2 separate regions of the Homo sapiens genome follow, and region 2 is linked to region 1. The links are contacts of gene promoters, found by promoter capture Hi-C in human tissues and cell types (Jung and others, 2019). All regions are on one chromosome and are shown on one strand. The core of a region is centred on a gene start or on the middle of the fragment in contact, and the rest is flanking DNA. Distances in the headings are between cores, read along the strand shown.

The links. The method cuts DNA at HindIII sites, captures the fragments that hold promoters and counts their contacts. A contact is called where the count stands out against the background at its distance.
Region 2: a fragment that was not itself captured here is called in contact with the fragment with the promoter of TFAP2E in region 1 in 6 of the 25 tissues and cell types used here (H1 embryonic stem cells, heart right ventricle, liver and 3 more).

What each region holds. Positions count from the first base shown.
Region 1 is chr1:35,571,967-35,574,666 of GRCh38, reverse strand. TFAP2E (transcription factor AP-2 epsilon) reads right to left here and starts at 1,353. Exons shown (of 7, transcript NM_178548.4): 1 at 1,063-1,353; 2 at 258-740. The coding sequence starts at 1,089. TFAP2E-AS1 (TFAP2E antisense RNA 1) reads left to right here. Exons shown (of 3, transcript NR_183387.1): 2 at 1-307. RefSeq lists enhancers at 1-648, 890-1,389. The HindIII fragment of the contact is 7,667 bases long and covers 1-2,700 here.
Region 2 is chr1:35,626,718-35,629,417 of GRCh38, reverse strand. All of the region lies in intron 3 of PSMB2 (proteasome 20S subunit beta 2), which reads left to right. Among named protein-coding and RNA genes, the nearest start is that of PSMB2, 13 kb to the left of the region's middle. The HindIII fragment of the contact is 9,137 bases long and covers 1-2,700 here.

The DNA.
Region 1 (2,700 bases), core at 104-2,603:
AGCGGGGAGAAAAGAAGTGATTCGGTCCCTGCCGAGGGTTGCTGCCACCCACGCACTGCTGGCGGACTCAGTGCCAGGCAGCCTTGATGGCCAGGCAACGTCTAACCCAGGAGGTGGGACACATCCTCGGAGTCACCAGTGAGATGTGGCGAGCTGGGAGAAAAGTCGGCTTCCTGCATTTGTCACCTTCTGCCTCCAGCCATGGTAGTAAACCACCGCGGCCAGTCCCGACCCATCCCGGATCCCTCGGGTCTCACCTGCAGGTCCTCCAGACCGGGGGCCGCCGCCAGCCCCGGAAGGCCGAGAGGTGCGTCTGCCAGGCCGTGCGCGCCGTCGGCCAGGCCGTGCAGGAGCCGGGGCACGGCAGTGGCATAGTCACGGCGCGGGTCAAGGCCCAGGGCGCGGGCGGGCGGTGCCAGCAGGCCGGGAGGCTCCTCGTGGGCGCGGGCGGCTGCGCGGGGCGCGGCCCAGGCGGCCTGAGGAGGCTGCGGCTGCGCCAGGGGCGCCAGGCCGCCATATGGGTCCCCTGCCAGGTGGGGAAAGGCTGCGGCGGCGTCGGGCGCCTGACCGTAGGGCAGCGGTGGCTGCGGGTAGGGCGGCGGGAAGTAGGGCGGCTGGAATTCGGCGGCAGCTGTGGCGGCCGGCGTGTGGCAGAGCGGGGGCGCCGGCCCGTAGGCCGCCTGGGGCAGAGACGACAGGCGGGCCCCGCCGGCAGCTGCTCCCAGCCCGTCGGGGCGCTCCTGGGGAAGGAGAGGGGTGCCTTAGGTGACCCACTGGCAGCTGAAAGGACCCCAGCCTGAAAGGATCCTCCTCAGCTCGGGAGGGTTCAGCTGCAGTCCCTCCCGTTTCTTGGGGCCCGAGGTTTATTTCCGAGCCACCCGCGGGCGCAGGAGCCTCAGGCTGGGGACAGCGGTCACTTGCGCATCGCGTTCTCAGCTGGCGAAGTCCCTGCGGCCCCCTCCCTCCGAGATTTCGTTAGCGCGGGACAGGAGGGTTGGAAAGTCCAGCACTCAGGCGCCCCGATCCCCCGGCCGAATATGTCCCGGGCCCGAGACTACTCACCATGGCGGAGTAGGTGTGCACCAGCATGGGGCGGTGAGTGCCGGGCGCGAGGCGTGGCGGCGGCGGAGCCCTAGCCCGACGGCGAGCGCTGCGGGCAGAGGCGCCGGGAGCCGGCACAGCCCGCGGAGGTCACGGTGCGGTAGCTGGGTGCGACCCAGCCGGGATCCTAGTGGGCGTGGGGTCCTCAGCGGTGGCCGTTCCCGGGCGGGTCCATGGAGGCAGGACGGACGGGCACTGATCGCACTTGGAAAAGTCGGTCAACGGGTGCCCAGCGCCCGCCCTTCCTCCTCTGAGCGTAGCCTGCTCCATGCACTCCAGTTATAGTGGCGGGGGCGCGCCGGGCCTCCGGGGGCGCGCATTAAAGAGACAAGCTATGGCAGTTCTCTCCCTTTTCCCCAGCGGCTGCCACAGGGGAGGCAGTGGCTTTGGCGGGATCGGGTAGGGTGGGTAGGGGGCGTGAATTCAGCCCACATTGATCAGAGCCGCCTTCTGGGCTCGCAGCTCGCAGCTGCAGTGAAACAGAAATATTCGAGGCTGGGACGCAAGGGCCCTACATTTGCCTGGCTCTATCACATCCTTGCCTTTAAGCAAAGCACTATTCTTCGCTGGCCTCAGCTTCCTCGGTAAAATAGGTATCAATCCTTTCTCTAAGCACCTCAAGAGACTTTGGATGAGGTGGGTAATCGGGAACGTGGAAGAAGTTTGTGAGCTGAAGACTCCAGCCTATCTGCTCATGCGCACACAGTGTCAGTGCGTGTGTTTAGGGGGTCTACCATCACAGTCTTTCCTGAATGGTTCTGGATCAAAATCCCTCGAAGGTGCCCACTTCGCTCTCAGGCTTCCTGGGCTGAAAACTTCCAAGCCAAGCCAGGCTCTGAGGGAGTTGGAGACAGAAGCTGGCCAGACAGAGAGAGAGACTTGCCTGGGATGGGTTTGGGTATGAGCTCCACCTGACAAGGGGCCAAGATATTTCTGAAGCCACAGGGTCCTGGGCTGATTGAGTGTGGGCATGAGATACCCAGAGACTGTTGAGTGACTGTGTGTAACTGACTAGCATGGATGCCGTGTGATTGTTACACTAACATGCGCAGGCTACATGTTCCTGTGTTACCATGGCAGGCACTCCCTGGCTGTCAAGCAAGTTCCAGTCTCTGTAGTCACTCTCTCTTTCTCCCCAAACCCAACCCTCCCCTCCTGACAAGCAGAGACAGGGATTAAAGATGGACAAATGAGAGGAATGCTAAGGAGAACAGGAATTAAGAAAGCAGAAGAAAGATGTTTTTTAAAAGCAAGATGTGCAGACCAGGGCAAAGTAGAAATAATCACAGCAGACTTATTACAGAATGTGCCAGCCTCTGTGCAAAGTGCTTCACGAATATTGGGTTCTTTAACCCTCACAGCAGCTCTATGAAAGAGATACCCATATCATCCCCATTTTCAGGGGAGGGGTGAGGCATGGAGAGGTTAAATGGCTTGCCCAAGGTCAAGCAGCTAAGTGGCAGAGCTGGGGTGATCTGCCCCTGGCCCCTCTCTGCTCAGAATCACTATTCTCTACTGCCTCAGACTCAGGGGCTTGGATTTAGTCCTGACTCTGCCTAACTGTGTGATCCTAGCTACATCCCGTTTCCTCTGTGATCT
Region 2 (2,700 bases), core at 70-2,569, 55 kb before region 1:
CAGCATGTTAAAAGATGCAACACTAAGTTAAGGATTGAATGCATTAAAGATTGTGTAGGATGTGCTAGGAAAGTTCATATGGTTGCTAAAGGTGTGTGTTATTCCCTTCCCACAGGGACTAAATAAATAGAGCCTTACCACGTGATCTCACCCCCTGTGCCTGTTTACTTATCTATGAAATGGAGATAACTTCCTAACCCCACAGGGGTGCCAGGAAAATGAATGCTTGTAAATCATAATATTTAACATTCATGTGACTTTTGCCCAAAGCATTTTGCTTAATAATTTAATCTACTCACTATTCCACTGAGAAAGATAGTCTCTATCACTGAGATGAAGTGAAAGGCATAAAGTGTCAAAGGGACTAGCTCCAGGTCACACAGCAGGTCAGACAAAGCTAAAATAATGGTGCCATAATTATTTGACTATTCTGCCTTTGGTTCTTCAGTAGTGTTTCTAGAACACTGATGCTATTCATATTTTTATTATGGTTTGAGTTTTCATCTGTACTTGCTTAAAATAACAAGTTACTTTTTTTAAAGTTACTTACTACAGATCTATAAAGCAGTTTATTTTCTAGTGCCTAATAATCTTTGACTGATAATTTCTCAATAAATAGTACCTCTCAGTGCTAGCTTTGACCAAGGGCTTGTACAATCTGAGGGATCATGAAGTTTGAAGAGAAGCTAGAGACATGTAGGATTGAGAGGAGGAGGCAAATTTACATACATTGTTTTGTCCTGGGTGAAAGATCAGTAGTCTTTTCTTTAAAAAAAAAAAAAAAAATATATATATATATATATATATATATATATATATATTTTTTTTTTTTTTTTTTTCTTCCAAGAAAGTCATTGTCACCAAGTGGTCTTTTCTTCACTCCTCCTTGAGAAAGGAAAATGGGTCAGATATTAGTTTTTCTGTCACCCAGAAGTTCCTGTGGTGTTCAGCATTTTATGACTTGCCATGTACGATGTTCCTCTGACTTATCAGGCAGAACCGGAGTAAGAATTCCAGCTTTGGGCACAATAAATACTGTGTCATAAATATCACAGACATTAAGTGAATTAAGCTCCTTTTTGGAATTGAGATAAGAATGGCAGTGTGCTTCATGCAAATGCAGTGAATCTGGTTTAATCTTCTCCTAGCAGAAATGTTTGATGTCTTAACAAATATCCCTTGTAGACAGTGACATGGGGCTCTGGTAAATATTGACTACCTCTGCCTGAGCTTTTCCAGTAGGTCCAATCTCTGCTCCCCCATCTCCTTATCAAAATAGATTCTTAGTTCTAAAATATGAATTTATATTTTAGTCGTCTTATTCTGGGAAGAGAGATGATAGTTTGTCAGTGTTCCTAATAAGTGCAAAGTCACCAAATTTAGTATATTTATATGGTCACACCAGTTGGCAGATGTGACTCATTTTGGGTCAGCCAGTTACCATGTATAACTTCTGTGTCTGTAGCTCAAATTGTTTGATTTCTAATTTGCTCTGTGTATGTGTGGTGGTTTGGTTGGGAGGACATTTACTACCACTGAGTATATAATGAATCTTACATAAACTGGTTCATTAAAATGTAGGCAATTTAGCATTGTGGTTAAGAGCATAGTCTCTGGAATTGGACTACCTGGGTTTGAATATTTGCTTACTGACTTACTAGCTGGATGTCTTTGGACAAATTCTAAGCTTAATTTCCCTACTTACCAATTTCAAAAAGTTATTATGAAGATTAAATAAGGTAATAATGCAAAGCTCTTACTTTTTTTTTGAGACAGGATCTCACTCTGTCATCTAGGCTGGAGTGCAGTGGTATGACCACAGCTCTCTGCAGCCCCTTGACCTTTCAGGCCCAGATGATCCTTCCACCTCAGCCTCCCTGGCAGCTGGGACTGTAGGTGCATACCACTATGCCTGGCTAATTTTTTGTAGAGATGGGGTTTCTCCATGTTGCCAGGCTGGTCCCGAACTCCTGGGCTCAAGCAATCCTCCCGCTTCTGCTTCCCAAAGTGCTAGGATTACAGGCATGAGCCACCATGCCCAGCCCACTTGTGTTTTTATGCTGCGATTGCTGTTTGGTCAAAGAAGCAATTTAATGGCTATAAGTTAGTTTTTCGTGAGGGATCATTTGTTGTGCTTTTTTTTTTTTTTTTTTTTTTTTGAGATAGGGTCTCGCTCTGTCACCTAAGAGGTGGCACAGTCACAGCTCACTGCAGCCTCAACCTCCCGGGCTCAAACAATACTCCCACTTCAGCCTCCCAAATAGCTGGAACTACAGGCGCCAAGCCACCATGCTGGTATTGATAGGGAAAATAGAAGTAAAATAACATTGAACATATATTATGTGCTAGGATTTTTCTAGATCTACACAGTCCAGTATGGTAGCCAACTAGCCACATGGGGCTATTTAAATTTAAGTTAATTAAAATTAAATAAAACTTAAAATTCAGTTTCTGGTGGAAAATCTCCTGGTAGACTTTGCCTGAATGCTAAATCAACTTTTGTTCTTAAAAAAAAAAATTCTGTTCCTCAGTCACAGCCACATTTCAGGTACCCAATAGCCACAACTATTGTATTAGACATCACAGATCTGGAACATATCCATCATCATAGAAGTTCTCTTGGACAGTGCTATTCTAAATACTTACATATGTATCTGTTATTAAGTATCCTTATTATGACACCATAAGATGTGTGTTATC